Regions from separate parts of the Homo sapiens genome. Here region 1 is linked to region 2. The links are contacts of gene promoters, found by promoter capture Hi-C in blood cells and fetal thymus (Javierre and others, 2016). All regions are on one chromosome and are shown on one strand. The core of a region is centred on a gene start or on the middle of the fragment in contact, and the rest is flanking DNA. Distances in the headings are between cores, read along the strand shown. Region 1 holds the start of IPO11 (importin 11). Region 2 holds the start of TAF9 (TATA-box binding protein associated factor 9).

Evidence for each region. The method cuts DNA at HindIII sites, captures the fragments that hold promoters and counts their contacts. A CHiCAGO score of 5 or more calls a contact.
Region 1: a fragment that was not itself captured here is called in contact with the fragment with the promoter of TAF9 in region 2 in 2 of 17 cell types (naive CD4 T cells and total B cells); the score reaches 7.5 in naive CD4 T cells.

The regions. Positions count from the first base shown.
Region 1 is chr5:62,412,149-62,414,848 of GRCh38, forward strand. It overlaps IPO11 (importin 11), which reads left to right and starts at 615. Exons shown (of 30, transcript NM_016338.5): 1 at 615-781. RefSeq lists an enhancer at 536-725 and a silencer at 1,056-1,105. The HindIII fragment of the contact is 2,111 bases long and covers 341-2,451 here.
Region 2 is chr5:69,368,070-69,370,769 of GRCh38, forward strand. TAF9 (TATA-box binding protein associated factor 9) reads right to left here and starts at 1,451. Exons shown (of 3, transcript NM_003187.5): 1 at 1,394-1,451. AK6 (adenylate kinase 6) reads right to left here and starts at 1,451. Exons shown (of 5, transcript NM_016283.5): 1 at 1,394-1,451. The coding sequence starts at 1,421. It overlaps RAD17 (RAD17 checkpoint clamp loader component), which reads left to right and starts at 1,749. Exons shown (of 19, transcript NM_133338.3): 1 at 1,749-1,864. RefSeq lists an enhancer at 2,003-2,552. The HindIII fragment of the contact is 4,867 bases long and covers 1-1,932 here.

The DNA of each region.
Region 1 (2,700 bases), core at 146-2,645, 7.0 Mb before region 2:
TGGGCTCAAGTGATCCTCCTGCCTCCATATCTGGAGTAGCTGGGACTACAGGCGCGCGCCACTGCGCCTGAGTAAGTTCTCTTTTTAAGGATAAGAAAATTTAGGTGACTATGCTAGCTTTTAGCAGAGGCAAGCAGAACTGGATTTATGTCCTTTTACATTTTTCCACTCTTGCTATTACTCAGGAGTAAGCGCCAAGCAATTTGGGTAACTTAAAAAATAAATATTTGCGGGAGGGAGGGTGGACTGATGGGAGTAAGATTCTTTAAATAACTCTTCTCTGCTGTGACGGATCCGCTATTGATATCTAGAATATAAAGCGTGAAATGGTTCTGATTGAAGCTTCAATCAACGCAGGAAACAATTGAGCTCCCTGGGAGTCGGAGAAACCAGACCTATGGTTTCCATGGTGACAGATCCGGCTAGTCCGGACTCCTGGCTCTTTATACTGCGCAAGCGCACTGCGCAAGCGCACACAACTGATTTGGATACCCCGCGCCTTTTGGTTCAAAGACAAAGCCCCTCCTTCCCCTTCCCGCCGTTCGCCTATCGCCTTCTCTCTCTGCCGGTCGCATGCGCGCTGGTCTCCTGTGACGTAGTTTTCGCGCGTCCGCGTCGTTTGGAGCTGCGACGCCAAACATGGCGTGTTCCTAGAAGCCGCTTTCGGCATCAGTAGGCGGCGGCGTGGGGTCTGGCAGCGTGGGGAGAGGGACCAACCGACGCCACTTCGTGTTGGGAAGTGGGAGCGGGAGGGCCGGGCAATTCCCGACCGAACCAAACGGTGAGGCCCCGGCCCGAGAGCCACCGAGCGCGCGGGAGTGGAAGGGAGTGGGTTGGGCACCCGAGTCCCGAGAGGCGGGAGGAAAGTGGGGCTACCAGGAGATGAGGGATAACGGTAGCGAGGCAAGGGCGGCCTGCAGACTTGGCTGTTTGCGCAACCTTAGGAACCCGGGGAACTGGGGGCTGGCCGAGGCAGCCCGGGAGTGGGCAGCATGGTAGTGGAGCAATCAGGGTGCGGGGTGGGAGGGACCGTATGCTAGGCTGAGCAGAGGCGAGTGTACCCATCGTGACCGCGGTTGCGGACCTGGGTGATGCATTTGCCCTTGGGGGATAGGTGGTGCAAATTTTGAGATAAAGTGGTTATCTCGAGTATAAGACCGTTGTGCATTGTTACTGCGCACGCGACCTTGTTGCTAATAGCAATAGTGTGATAGCTTTAAACATTAGACCCTTACATGCTTTTAATGAAAAAGTGAAGGTAGTTGTCCGTTTATAGAGAGGAGCTTCATGGAGAGGTATGGCCGCCAATTCTCAAGCTCAGCGACTCCTGTAGATTTATATTTGGGGGTATTTGTGATTCAGCAAAACTACTTTTGCTTATTACGTGTGTCATTTTTTCTTTATTATTTTGTGACATGTTGGTGAATGAGAGAAGTACTATCTGAAAGTGATTTGACTAAATAGCAAGGACTGGTAAATTACCTACTAGTGCCAAGGTTGCAGTTGACATACCTCCTCCCCTCCATAATTTAAACGAGCTCAGTTGTAGCGCGGTAGTGCCCTTCAGATTTCGGTTATTCTTCAGAAGGAAGAATAGTTTGTAGCCATAATGCTTTTCCCCCTCCTGGGATAGGAATTTTCTTCCTCCATTTTCATGTTATTTCAAACTTCTCTGTTCAGTAGAGGAGCTTCAGATTAAGGGCAGGGTGACTCTTCTATAGGAGACATCCATTGCATGACACATATTACATCTTTCATCACTGAGGAAAATTTCGGTGAAAGTAGAAACATTTTCCCTTTTGGTTATGATGGGACTGGTATTTTCTCTGTTTCTGCAGTAACCTAGCACAGGGTATAGTAGAAACAATTAATTATAGTAGTGGCTTGTGGCCATATATTATAGTCTCAGGGTAGGAGGGTGGTCTCCGCCCTAGTTGAACTTCTAAGGCCAAAGAGAATTTTCACCACAAACACATTTGGCTGTGGTAATGTTAGAGGTTTTAAACAAATATGTAAAGATTATCTGATCATTAATAGAACAATTTTTAGATTTTGTGATGTTTGAATATATTTGCATTTGGAATCAAACCAGAATGCAGCATGATCCTTGTAGGCATGTGGCTATTAAAATACACTGAAGATTTTTCCAGAAACAAAATTTTTTTTTCTCAGCAATAAAAATATTCAAATTTTGGGTAAGGTAATGTTTGATTATTTGGATTTTGACCTTTGTGTTATATATTTGTACCTGTGTGTGTGTATGTATGTAACCTCACTTCTAATTTAGTGTTATTGATGGTAATATTTTTTCCTTTCTTTATCAGCTTCAAATAGGGACTGTTAATTTCAGAGCGTTTAAGGAATGGCAAAACACATTTAGTGCTGGTGTGAGTCTGTAGTGTGTTTGGTTTGCTGACTATCAGACTTATTACAGATAAGTCCACAGTTATAAGCTTTGTAGAGCTTAAGTTGCATCAGTGTTCTTTACCCTTGCTACTCAAATTGTGGTATATAGCATCACCTGGGAGTTTATTAGAAATGCATGATCTCAGGCTCAATCCAGAGCTGCTGAATCAAAATCTGCAATTTTAACAAGTTATCTAGATGAAAGGAATGTTCAATAAATCTTGAGATGCACTACTTTGGTTGGTAACAGTTGAAGAACACTGAGGTAATGCACAAACCGGTATAAAAATTTAT
Region 2 (2,700 bases), core at 201-2,700:
ACTGACCCCTTGCGCCCTTCCCTAGAGATAACCACTGTAAACCAGTTTCCTTTCCCAAAGAAACCCTATTTATGTTTGCATGTAAATGTACATATATGTACATACTCTTTGTTATATAAATACAACACATATTCCCTTTTACATAAATGACAATACTATATACATTGTTCTTTACCTTCCCCTTCTGATACCTATTAAAATTACATTTCAAGATCATCAAATTCATAATTTTCAGCTATTCAGATTTAACATCCCTGAAATTAAACTTAAGCATAAAGATAACAGGGATAATCCAGTTCCCATACCCAGGAGAATAACGGTCACCTCAAGTCCACTATAATACACCAAGTCTGAACCCTGGACTCAACATGTTTTCAATAAAATGTTCACTTTAAAGTTTTGACAATGACTTAATAACCAGGGCACTATGTTTGATCCATGCAAAAAGATGTAAAATCTTCCGCTTAAGGAATCTAAAATTCTAAACGTTATTTGTGGGGTGGTTAATCTGCACCTCTCAGAAACAGACATGTCTTGTGCGCTGCCAACAATTTTACCTTTGGGTGAATGATGTAACTTTACTGTTCCCACAAAGAGTCTTAATTTTTCTGTACCTTGCAATAAAATCTACATGCATTAGATTTTTCCACGAATGGCCTACAATTTGATAAACACTTTCAGGACTAAACGGCTAGCAAAAATATTCGTTAAAGTCGTTATGCAGCATTTTAATTCCCTTCACTGATAACATGCACCCTGAGTATGGCTTCAAAGACCCACTCCTACGCGAGAAACGACCCGAAATGCTCTATATGCCTTCCTTTTAAGGGGCGGGGGGATCCTTTGATGTAACTCAACAAAAGCATACAGCAATTTCGTCACGTCACAAACATCTGAACTCGTTTACCGAAATCTAATCTGAGGCGTTTATCAGAAGCAAAGAAAAAATAAAATACGGCCCACGGAGGCCTAAGGAGTGAGGCATCCACCATTAATGACTCTACCGGGAAGCAGATATGGCCTTACGTTATTTCGCTAAAAATCCCAAGGCCAACCCTGCCAAAGAATCAACAACCCATTTTACAAACGAAATACCAGATTCAGAAAGACTAAGCAGGTTGCCAAGCTGGAGAGCTGGATCTGCCGACCTCTCTCCACCCCCCCCCGCCCCCCCCCGGAGCCTCAGGCCAACGGAATTAACGTTCCGCGTCCCCTCCCTCGCCTCCCGCAACGCCCGCGAGGGTCGGCTCCCGGGGCGCTGACAACCGCCTCGTGGCCCTCGGCCGGCCTCTGAAGAGGGCAGTGAGGGGCCCCCACCTGGGCGCCCGATGCCCAGAGCACTCTGCGCCCCCAGCCTGCCCCAGCCCAGTCCCTCCCGGCCGCGCGCCCTGACCGGTGAGCAGGATGTTCGGAAGCAACATGGTCCCCGCCGCGACGGCTTCGGGCGCCTCGCTCACGTGCCCTTTGCTCTACAGGGAGGAGCCGGAAGGGGCGGGCGGCAGCAAAAGCCCACGGCCCCAAAGGCCCCGAAGCCCACCGCGGCGCCCCTAGCCTGCCCCGGCGGCCCAGCCGCGGCCCACTGGTTACCTGGCTTTCGATGACACATTTCCGTCGCAAAGTTGGAGGGTGGGCATAACTCGGGTCGGTACTTCGGGTCAGGCAGTGCGCTGGATGCCTAAGTCACACACTCCTTCGGTGGTCCCCGCCCTTCGCTTGCGCCGACCAGTCTGGAAGGTCCCCGGGAGGCCGTACCTCCGAGAGGCTCGGCGTTGAGCCCGGGTAGGGCCAGGTGGCTGCCCTTTCACCTAGGGTAGTCCCTGGTCGCCTCCGCTCTTCGCCTAAAAGGGGATGCAGCTCCGGGAAAGTAAGGCCGCCGCGGTTGCGGCTATATTATGTATATGTCTTAGAGACGTGAGTCTATCTCTGCCTTCAAGCTTTCCTGGGCTCTCGTCGCTCCTCCTCCCGACCCGCCCATCCCATCTGGGGATGAGAAGATTGAGGGTGCAGAGCCCTGTCCTGCAGCGGGGATTTGCGAGCTCAACCCGGCACCCCACTGATTACAGGATTACGTTGGACGAATATTTGAGCTTAGTATTCCCTGTTCACTGTGTGGGGTGGTGGTGGGTCGGCTAGGAATAGTCTTGAAGGTCTACCTCTGACATCTCATTTCAGTAACCTCGCATCTTCAGGGACAGTTATCTGCTTTTTAAAGGAGGTAATTGTCAATCTTGTTTTCAAGAGTGAATAGAGACCTGACCGTGACAACAGTCTGCACCTTTTTTTGTTTGTTTGTTTGTTTTTGTTTTGTTTTGAGACGGAGTCTCACTCTTGTCGCCCAGGCTGGAGTGCAACCTCCGCCTCCTGGGTTCAAGTGATTCTCCTGCCTTAGCCTCCAGAGTAGCTGGGATTACAGGCGCCCACCACCACGCCCGGCTAATTTTTGCATTTTTAATAGAGACGGGGTTTCACCATGTTTTGGCCAGGCTGGTCTCAAACTCCTGACCTCAGATGATCCGCCCGCCTCGTCCTCCCACGGTGCTGGGATTACAGGCATGAGCCACCGCGTCCGGCCCCTGGTCTGCATCTTTTATTTCGAGCTACAAACTATATTTACTCAAATAGGTGTTTTTTTTCCACCTGTATACCTTTTGAAACGTCACAGTCTCTAATCGTGAACGATTTGGGGCGGAGGGCTGAACA